2 separate regions of the Homo sapiens genome follow, and region 1 is linked to region 2. Evidence: promoter capture Hi-C in 16 types of primary human blood cells and fetal thymus (Javierre and others, 2016). All regions are on one chromosome and are shown on one strand. Each heading gives the region's core, a stretch centred on a gene start or on the middle of the fragment in contact. The rest is flanking DNA. Distances are from core to core; before and after follow the strand shown.

What was found. The method cuts DNA at HindIII sites, captures the fragments that hold promoters and counts their contacts. A CHiCAGO score of 5 or more calls a contact.
Region 1: a contact is called between the fragment with the promoter of ZFP28 here and the fragment with the promoter of ZNF585A in region 2, in 6 of 17 cell types (total CD4 T cells, non-activated CD4 T cells, naive CD4 T cells and 3 more). The highest score is 17.1, in total CD4 T cells.

Annotation. Positions count from the first base shown.
Region 1 is chr19:56,536,520-56,541,751 of GRCh38, forward strand. ZFP28 (ZFP28 zinc finger protein) reads left to right here and starts at 2,429. Exons shown (of 8, transcript NM_020828.2): 1 at 2,429-2,707; 2 at 3,106-3,197. The coding sequence starts at 2,500. ZFP28-DT (ZFP28 divergent transcript) reads right to left here and starts at 2,215. Exons shown (of 3, transcript NR_183967.1): 1 at 1,906-2,215; 2 at 1,132-1,218. The HindIII fragment of the contact is 11,931 bases long and covers 1-5,232 here.
Region 2 is chr19:37,171,316-37,176,379 of GRCh38, forward strand. It overlaps ZNF585A (zinc finger protein 585A), which reads right to left and starts at 1,380. Exons shown (of 5, transcript NM_001288800.2): 1 at 1,312-1,380. RefSeq lists enhancers at 1,281-1,470, 1,312-1,606. The HindIII fragment of the contact is 2,114 bases long and covers 242-2,355 here.

The sequences.
Region 1 (5,232 bases), core at 1,179-3,678, about 19 Mb after region 2:
GGGTGTCTAGTTTTAAATTCTCCAGTATAGTTTTATAGGATAAGGATTATTTATTGCTTTGGTATTCATGGAAAAGCCTGAGAACTTATTTAATGATTTTCCATTTCTTCTTGAGTCAGTTTTGGTACTTATAATTTTCTCTATGGTAAGCCCCTGCATATGTTTTAAATATATTGAGATAAGGTGATCACAGTATTTGCAAAATTCTAAAAATTTCTGTGATTATGTCCACTTTTTCATTTCTAATACCATTTCTTTGATTGTTTATTTCTCTTTTTTTCTGCTAAGCCATCTTTAGCATAACTTTCATCCTCATGATGCCAAGGTGGCTGTTTGCAGCGGACCCTATCCTTGTTGGACTGAACAAAGGATGACAAACATGGGAATAAAGACAAAGACAAAAGAGTATATTTGGAAGAAGAGGTCTGGGGGCTCCTTGCTTCCAGTGAACACAGGCCCTGAGCCTTTACAGCCCTTCGTATTTATTAGAGTGAATAGGGAGAAGGGGGGTGGTTGTCGGTCAGTAGCTTGATTTACAGCAGGCTTGCAAGACTGCATTCGTCAACCAATAGGCTCTAGATGTCCCATTAGATAACCTCAAGGAGCATGACACCAGGGAGTGATTGCCTTCAGCAAACCTTCTGGTGGCTGGAGCAGAAGCGACTTTGCCCACATTCTGCATTCATGATAAACAGTTTGCTGTTTGATCATATAGCCTCCAGTGGAATGTTGAGTTGGCCACGATCCCTTTGCCAGCTCTCTACAGCTGTTCTACCTGTTGACATCCTGTGTCATACCCAAGCAGGAAGAAGGTTGTGTGAGATGACAAAAGGCCAGAGTTACATGCCAGCTGTGTCTCTTTCCACACATCCACCAAACCCCCAGCAAATGTGTACTTAAAATTCATTGGTTACAGAGCCACTACTCCTTACAAGGAGACTGGGGAGGTGAGTATTATAAGCTGGGCAGATGGCCACTTGAAGAGCATCAATGTTCTGCTGTGGAAGGAGTGCAAAATAGACACCAGAGAGACCATTAGCAGTGTCTGCCACAGCTATTACATGGCTAGGTCCACCTGACTGAAACTAAGCCTTTTCTATGAGACTGAAGTGCTTTGAGAGAAATGCTGACCTTGTCCTTTCTGCAGCTTGCGGCTTTCAGTCACCCTTGGATTCAGAGATAGAAGTCATCTTAATTCCATCACTGAGGCCAGGAGACCTGAAAGAAATCAATTCAAGAGTAAGGAGACCAGGCGTGCAGTGTGACTGGGCGTGCAGAGGTCAGTGCATCTGTGATGACTGGTGTAACAGCATCACTGCCTGTGAGCCAGCAAGGCCCTTGGCTCCCAGGATGAAGCTCTCCAGTTCTGATAAGGCCCCTGGGGGAGAGACCGGTCCTAAACATGTTCAAGAATAAATCCATCAGCTAACTTCAGACCGTGATTCACACAGGAAGGGAACTTTAAGAGGTCGCCAGGGCTGGTATTTTTGAGACGTTAGGCAGCCCTCTCTGAGGCGATGACAAGTGAATGGCATAAAGGAGCCAGCCCAGACGAAAATTTGGGGTTAGACTATTTCGACCCAGGACGTGCAAATACATAGGTTACAAAATGGAAAATGGTATTTTGGAGGATGGGAGGCCCGTGTAGCCAGAGATAATGGGAGAAGGTGAGGGGGCACCCAAAACAATCCCACAAGCTCTCTACATCCCCCTTCCTAGCCCACACACATCACCCATCAGAGTGATCCTCCGGACTCCGGAGGCCCCCAAGATTGCCTTTCCCTTCCCGGTCGGCAGTGACGCTCCCGCAAGGAGCTGACGCCCAGGCCCTTAGCACCTGTCACAGCCAAGCACCCTTTTACTCCGGCCCTGCGGTCCCACCCCTCGCCGCAAGCCCCGCCTCACCCGGTCTGCCGCTGCGCCTGCGCGACTCCCAGAAGCCTTTGGGGGGTGGGTGTGTAGTCAGAGCGGCCTCTGCTTCCGGCCACACCCAGGCCCAGCGTTGGCCACCACTTATGCGGCGGCTGCGGTCCAGGGACAAGTGAGAGCGACCCGCAGAGGGCAGGACGGACGGGCGTTGCATAGGCCCGGGGCCAAACCGTATCTTGCAACCTGAGCTCCGAGGGCCGCCGCATCCGTCCCTGCTTGGGACTACGCTTCCCAGCGGGCATTGCGCCGAGGCCACGCCCGGTTCCGGCGGCGCTGCCTGCGCACTGGAAGTGGGAAGCGCCGGGCTTCTCTAGGCTGAGGGGCGGGGCGGGGCGGGGCGGGGCGGGGCGGGGCGGGGCGGGGCGGGGCGGGGCGGGGCGGGGCAGCGGGGAGGGGTGGGGAGGGGCGGGGCGCGGCCGGGGGCGGGGCGGCTCCGCGGCGCGGCCCAGTGGATGCCGGGCCATGGGGGAGCGCGCGCGGGGCTGTTCGCTGGGCGTGGCGGGCGGGTGTGGCCAGGGGTGTGGGTCTGTGAGGGACCGGTCGGAAGGGCGTCGCGCGGCCTCGGGTGACATGCGGGGGGCGGCGAGCGCGAGTGTCCGCGAGCCGACGCCGCTCCCGGGTAGAGGCGCCCCCCGCACAAAGCCCCGGGCGGGCCGAGGCCCGACTGTAGGGACTCCAGCCACCTTGGCCCTCCCTGCCCGGGGAAGGCCGCGCTCAAGGAATGGCCTCGCATCCAAAGGCCAGCGAGGAGCGGCCCCTACGGGGCCTGGGCACAGAGGTGAGAGTGACAGGTGTTTGGGGCCGAGCGGACAGGGACGAATTCATCTCGGGATGAGATCTGGGAGGGGGTTGGGCTCTCGGGGACCAGTTGCTGGAGAACTGTGCCCCTGGTCTTTGAAGCTGGTGGAGTGGGAGAATCTGAAGATTTGGAAGCTCAACTGATTCAGAGCAGCAAGCCGCGGTAAAAGGGTGTTGACTTTCCCAGGGTGACTCTAACTAGACGCTTTTCCTGTTTTCGTGCTCCCAGGGAGGAAAAAAACCTATCTCCACGTTGTGGCAGTCCCTAGGCAGGGTAATGATCTGATCCCACCTTTTCATGCAGGAAGGGACGTTTCTAGGCTGGTGATTTGGGACTGTGGTGTAGACCTGGTCTCTAGCTACTCCTTTCTCTTTCAGCTCTGCCTTCCAGGGACACTGCTCTTCCCCAGGAGAGAAACAAGAAGCTGGAGGCTGTGGGGACAGGAATTGAACCTAAAGCCATGTCCCAGGTGAGTTGGCATTTCATCTCTTGTCTCTGAAATGCAGTCTTGCTTTTCGGGACTTAATGTTGCTTATTTTCTTGAAAGTTTTCAGTTTAAGAGACCTGTTTGGGCGCGGGTTTCTATTTCTTCACGTTCTAGTGAAGTGATGGGCTACGGGGAAAAGTTTAAACTGCCCGGGGCCTCGATGCCTGCTTCTTCTTCATCCCAATCAGCCTTCATTCTTGATTGATGAAATGATTCAGCCTCTCCCTTGTACCGCTTTTCTCAGAGGGACTCTGATGGAGGAATTGTGCCCCTTGAGGAACACGGCAGACTCTTCTGCTATACATGGTTTGTTTGGTGACCACTTTGTGCCAGCCACTGAGCAAACCAATAGCTAAGCCCTAGTCCCTGCTCTGGAGCTCACAGCCTGTTGACCCAATGTCAAGGAAACAAGCAAGATTCTAGAATGTGATCATCCTTGGGCCAAGTATTATGAGCGAGGACTACAAGGCGCTCCTGGCTTCCAGCCTCCTGTAGCGGAAGGGTAGGCCTATTTACCAAGGAGGTGATTTTTGAGCCTTGCCTTGAAGGGAGAGAAGATGTTTGGGAGGCACAGTAAAGAAAGACAACATTTTAGGGAGAGGAGGCGCAATATGAAAGGCTTTTCCACTTGATTTTGTGGCTTTAAAACATGCCAGTAAATAGTTGTGTTTGTTTCGGTTGGCTTCTCCTATAAATATCATAGCTAGCTCATTAATAGATGAACCATTTCACTTCCACTGAGGCCTCAAAAAATATATGTACAGATGAACCAGCTTCCAGTTGTCCTACCCAAACTGCTCTTGAGTGGGTTACTGTGATCTTCACATTACCAGATGCAGTGCTCAATTCTTAGTCTTTTTTGACTATCATTGGTATTTGAAATAGCTCAGAGGCTGGCAAACTTGTGCTGGATGAGGCCACAGCAGAAAATATGTTAGGCTTTGAAAGTCCTGCTGCATCTACTCCTTTCTGCTCTTATAGAGCTAAAGTAGCCAAAGACAATATGTAAATGAATGGATGGGCTGTGTTCCAGTAAAACTTCAGTTACAAAACAGGTGGCTACCTATCCCTCAAATAGCTCATCCCTGTCCTTCAATAGGCCCCCTTTTTTCCCTTGGCTACTGGGATCTCACACTCATCTGACTTTCATCTTCCTGACTGCTCAGTTTTTGCCACAGTTCTTACCTCCGTGACTTGAACAGAGTGTGCCTCAGCACTCTGCTCATGGCCCTTTCTTTTTTTGTCTGCATGCTGTCTCCTGGGGATAGTAGCCTGTTCCTTGTCTGTACAACCTACCCACATGGTGGCTCCTCCCAGATTCACATTGTGAGCCCAAACCTCTCCTCTGAGCCGCCGGCCTGTGTATCCTGCTCCACTCCTCTGCCTGAGTGTCTGATGGGTAACTCAAGACAGCCTGTCCAGACCCGAAGTCCTGAGAGTCTCCCATAAACCAGCTCCTCCCACAGTTTGAGTCTTAGTCAGTGGCCGTTTCATCCTCTCAGTTACTCAGTCCGGAAGCCTTGTCATGATTGGCTCATTTCTTGCCTTTTCCTTCCATATTTGGTCCTGATGCAAATCCTGTCAGTTCTATTTGCAAATTATGTGCAGAATCTGGCAGTTTTCATCACATCTATCACCAGCAGCAGGTCCAAGTCCTCCTTTTACTGTGGGCTTCTTGACTGTGCTTCTGTGACCTCCTGCTTCTGCTCACGCTCCCCACAGCCCCTTCCCGATGAGCAGCCAGAGGGGTCTATTCAAACATGTCACCTTGTGTCACGCTGTGCTCAGGACCCTCCAGTGGTTTCTCTGAATAAAAGCCAAAACTCTTCCTGTTACTGACCAGGCCCTACATGACCTGGCTCCTTGTTACCCCTGACATCTACATCACTCTCTTCTTTCTGAAAAATCGCCTTCTCATTTTCCTGCTCACCCTGTCTAGAATTTCAGAGCCTCCTACCTGTTCTTCACATCCCTCTTCCCTGCTTTGCTTTTTTCTTTTAGTACTTTTCTTTTGAGA
Region 2 (5,064 bases), core at 130-2,629:
ATTTCCTAACTTTATGTTAAAATATACCACAAAAAAAAGTAGGACAAAAGATATGAAAATTCACAGAAAAGGAAACAAATGGCAATTAACCAAATAAGATGCCAACTTTAGTAACTGGAAAATGCATTGGAGCAATTAGATATAATTTTCCCTCAAAATTTTAAAAACTTTTAAAATGCAACAATATCCACTGCTGGAAAAGCATCTGGGAAAATGAGTTATTTTATAAATTGTTGGTATAAGCTTGAATTGTTATATTTTGAGCTACTTAGTCATATCTATAAAGTATTAAAAATGCACATATGCCGGGCGCAGTGGCTCACGCCTGTAATCCCAGCACTCTGGGAGGCGGAGGCAGGTAGATCACCTGAGGTCAGGAGTTTGAGACCAGCCTGGCCAACATGGTGAATCCCCGTCTCTACTAAAAAATACAAAAAATTAGCTGGGCGTGGTGGCGGGTGCCTCTAATCCCAGCTACTCTGGAGGCTGAGGCAGGAGAATCCGTTGAACCCACTAGGCAGAGGTTGCAGTGAGCTGAGATCGCGCCACTGCACTCCAACTTGGGTGACAGAGCGAGACTCCATCTCAAAAAAAAAAAAAGTGCACATAGTTATTCCTAATAATTTCACATATATAAAGCAGAAAAAGAAGGACAAATGGACAAATAACCTTTCCAGAGTTGAGTACTTTACCTTCCTCTGTAATTAAGCAGACAAAATAATCTGTGAGGAGACAGATATATTTTTTGAATATATGCTTAATTAATATCTATAACAATACAATTAGAGAACATAGTACACTGTTTCTATGTAATAGATGTGACATTCATGAAAACTGACCACGAACTAGGTCATAAAGCAATTTTTCAATTTGACCATTAAACAGACATTACTTTAAAAAGGAACTTCTAAATAACTCATGGATCAAAGAAAAAACCACTTAGATTTGAACAATTTTTAATACAAAGATTCACCAAAACTTGAGAATTTTTATATTAAAGAAGACTGAAAATTAAAAAGCTGAACTTTCAACTCAGGTTAGAAAGCAAGCTGATTACAGTCCTCACCGATCACCATAACTGACCCTACAGGCTCTGTCACTGACCACAGACTCCCATCACTGACCCCCAAACCTCAATCACTCATCCCAAAGAGCTCCATCAATGACCTGAGAAATCCGTCACAATCAACAACGGACGCCACAGAACCCCATCACCGAAGCCTGAAACCGCAATCACTAACTCCACAGGCAACCTCGACACCCCCTATTACTGGCTCCACAGAAACCCCAATCGTGATCAACCAAAATCACCTCAAAGATTTATCGGTATTGGAATATGAAAATACTCCTGACACCAGCGGCAAAAAAGCCTTGGAAGACCACTTCCACTTCCGGTCCGACTTCTAGCACCTCCCCTTTGTAGGCTGTTGATATGGCGCATGCTCTGAATAAACTTGGAAGCCAGTTTCCTCGAACAGTCAACAGGGCGCAGACACAGCGCACAGGTTCCGTAATGTGGCGCTGTCCGGCAGAGAACATGGCCGCGCCCTTATGGTGTTTATTCGCGTGGGCCGCCATTTTGAAAGCATATCCATTCCGTAGAGCAGAGGAATTGGCCGCTGGCAGGGTTTCCTAGAGCGAGGCAGGTATAGTTACATAGGATGCTGGAGTGTGACCCTTGTCTGACTAGGCTTCTATTTCGGAGGAGAAAGTTACTGGAAATGTGGGTCTGGTGCTGTATGTTATATTTAGAAAAGCTAAGTTACCTTTCTGAATACAGGACACTGAGGATAATAATTACCAGGGAATAGAGGAGCCAGGGAAAAATCACCAAGTGAAGGGGATCCTGGGAGAAACCACAGGCAGATGATAGGAGGAATCAGGATAGTACAGTCCATTTTTTACAGACGCCATTCAGGGAAAAGGTGGAAAGGTCACTAGGGGAGTCATCTCTTGAGTGAAACCACCCTGAAAGTCTGAGAGACATCTGAATGAGTAGTAGGCTGCAGGAAGAGTGGTACAACTTTTAATGGGAGAAACCGCCTTGGGAAATAGGGTAGAAGTCCAATAGTATTAATACAATCCTCTCCTGGGAGATACCACCAGAGGAGGGAGGAGAAGTCCGGGCGTCCCCTTCTGAAGGGCTGGGTCGGGTGGGAAGGTGAATAGAGATTTGAATCACCCATTACCCTCCACACTAAATACCTCAAGTGCAACTATAGTAGGCAGCAATAATAACAACACTAATAGTCTTTAGTATGGCCAACGTGTTACTAAAAGCACCTAAAGAAGACTGTTTTTATTTACCTTGAAGTTAAAATATAATTAATAACAATCGCCTTACCATGTCAATGAAGCTTTAAGTGCAGTCTCTGACCCTTAGCTTCTCCTCTGTGGAAATTCTGAAACCTCCTTACTCCCCTTTTTGGAGGGTGTGGATGAGGAGTTGTAAAGATACAATTCCTTTCACTTGGTGAACTCCTAAACATGATTCACAGCTCAGCTTCTGACAGGAAGTTCTACCTGAACAGTGGTGGGAAATTACTACCCAATGTGTTCAGTTCCAGCAGGTGGGAAACTTGTTTTCAGGGAATTGAACCTACACTCTGATGTGGGCATGCTGGATGCCTTCAGGCCAGTTATGTCTGTCTCTGGGACTCGGCTTAAAAATATGTTTAGAGAATTAGACTCTGCTGATCTCAGGTTTTCTTTCTTCTCCGAAAGGACGGTCTAAGGAAACATCTGTGGAAGTCCGTTAGTAAACACACAATTTCTACCAAGGGGCTAAGAATTACTGTTGATTTTGTCAGTAATGCAGCTCTGTTAAAAAGAAGATGACTTAACTTTTAGGGATTCGTGTGGAAATATTTATGGGTGGAATAATATTAGCTTTAAAAACTCCACTGAGAAAAAAAAAACTCCACTGAGAAGGGGTATATGGTATTGCAAAAGAAAATGTTGATAAATGTTAAAGCAGAGTGATAAGTAGACAGAACTCATTATAATGTTCTCTTCCATAGTATTTGTGTGAAATTTTCATAGTAAATTTCTAATTTAAAAAGAAAGGAATTAAAAACATTTACAAGGAAACATCAAGAAGACAGCAGGTGTGGTCATAGTGTTAGGGAAGATGAAACCTAGGAGACCCAGAGTGACACCATTTTAAGTTCAGCTCCATCTTGACACTAGCAAGGCACATTCATTGCAAGTCACAACTCATGGTCCTAATGTGTTTACAGCGAAGGAAGCAGCCCTGTAATGCCTGCAAAGACAAACTCCTAGAACAACAGAAAGTCCAGATGTCCAATACCCATAACAATAAATGCTTTCAAGATCATTATAGTTATACTTTGATGTACTTACTAAAATGTCAGGGATAGTTTTCTTTAAATCAATAGAATAATAAATTTTGTCATAATGTCAGGCCACCCACGCATAGGCACAGCTTACTTTAGTCTTTACATAGACAAGACCCCTATATAAGAAAAGCTTAACAGATGTTCCTCCACTTGCTTTCTGAGGACACCCTACTCTGTTGTGGAGTAGCTTTCAATAAACTATCTCTTCTCACTGCACTCTACAACCCACCTGGAATTCTTTCCTGCATGAGATCAAGAACCCTCTCTTGGAGTCTGGATTGAGACCCTTTTATTTCCATAACAATAGTATTATACAAACACAGGCATACCTCAGCGATATTTAGGGTTTGGTTCTAGACCACTACAATAAAGCGAGTCACACAATTTGTTTGGTTTCCTGGTGCGACATACACTGGGGCCTGTTGGGGGTGGGGTGGCGGGAGGGAGAGCATTAGGAAAAATAGCTAATGCATCCTGGGCTTAACACCTAGGTGATGGGTTGACAGGTGCAGCAAACCACCATGGCACACGTTTACCTATGTAACAAACCTGCACATCCTGCACACGTACCCCAGAACTTAAAATAAAAATTAAAGGCTGGGTGCCCGTGGCTCACGCCTCTAATCCCAGCACTTGGGGAGGCCAAGGCAGGCGGATCACGAGGTCAAGAGGTCGAGACCATCCTGGCCAACATTGTGAAACTCTGTCTCTATTAAAAATACAAAAATTAGCTGGGTGTGGCAGTGCACACCTGTAGTTCCAGCTACTCGGGAGTGTGAGGCAGGAGAATCACTTGAACCCGGGAGGCAGAGGTTGCAGTGAGTTGAGATCGCGCCACTGCACTCCAGCCTGGGCGACAGTGCAAGACTCTGTCTCAAAAAAATAAAATTAAAATTAAAAAAGTCTATTTTGAAAAAAATAGAGAAAGAAAACAACATGAGAAAGAAAAAGGAACATTACTACTGAGAGAAAGATTTAAAACTCAAGAGAATTCTAAGGATATTTTGAGAAATCCATTTGAAAATGTAATAAAATAGGAAGTTTCCTAGGAAAACACAGATGAAAATTGCCATGTATAGGAAGAAAATTTGGATAGGCCAAAAACAATAAAAGAAATTGAATTGGTAGCATATGCAAAAACCAATCCTATGTGTATTAATGATTCAAATGTTAAAAACATAGCTTTAAGACTTTTAGTAAAAATATTAGTAAATGTGTTTTAGACTCTGTGGCAATGGAAAGATCTCTTAAACAGAACACCAAAAAAGTATTATATATAAAAGGTTGATAAAACTGACTATATTAAAATAATAATTTTTGTTCATCAAGTGATAGTAAAGAGAATGAAAAGGCAAGGTATAAACTGGTGCAGATACACATAGAACACAGGCTACCCGAGATAGCAGGAATATGCTTTTTAAAAAACCCTCCAAATCGGCTGGGCGCGATCTCGGCTCACTGCAACCTCCGCCTCCCGGGTTCAAGCGAGTCTTCTGCCTCAGCTGGGATCACAGGCGCCTGCCTAATTTTTGTATTTTTAGTAGAGACGGGGTTTCACCATGTTAGCCAGGCTGGTTTTGAACTCCTGACCTCAGGTGATCCACCTGCCTTGGCCTCCCAAAGTGCTGGGATTACAGGCGTGAACCACCGCACCCAGCTATGCATGCATTTTTATGCGCTGGGAGTGAAGGTGTAGGATTAACCA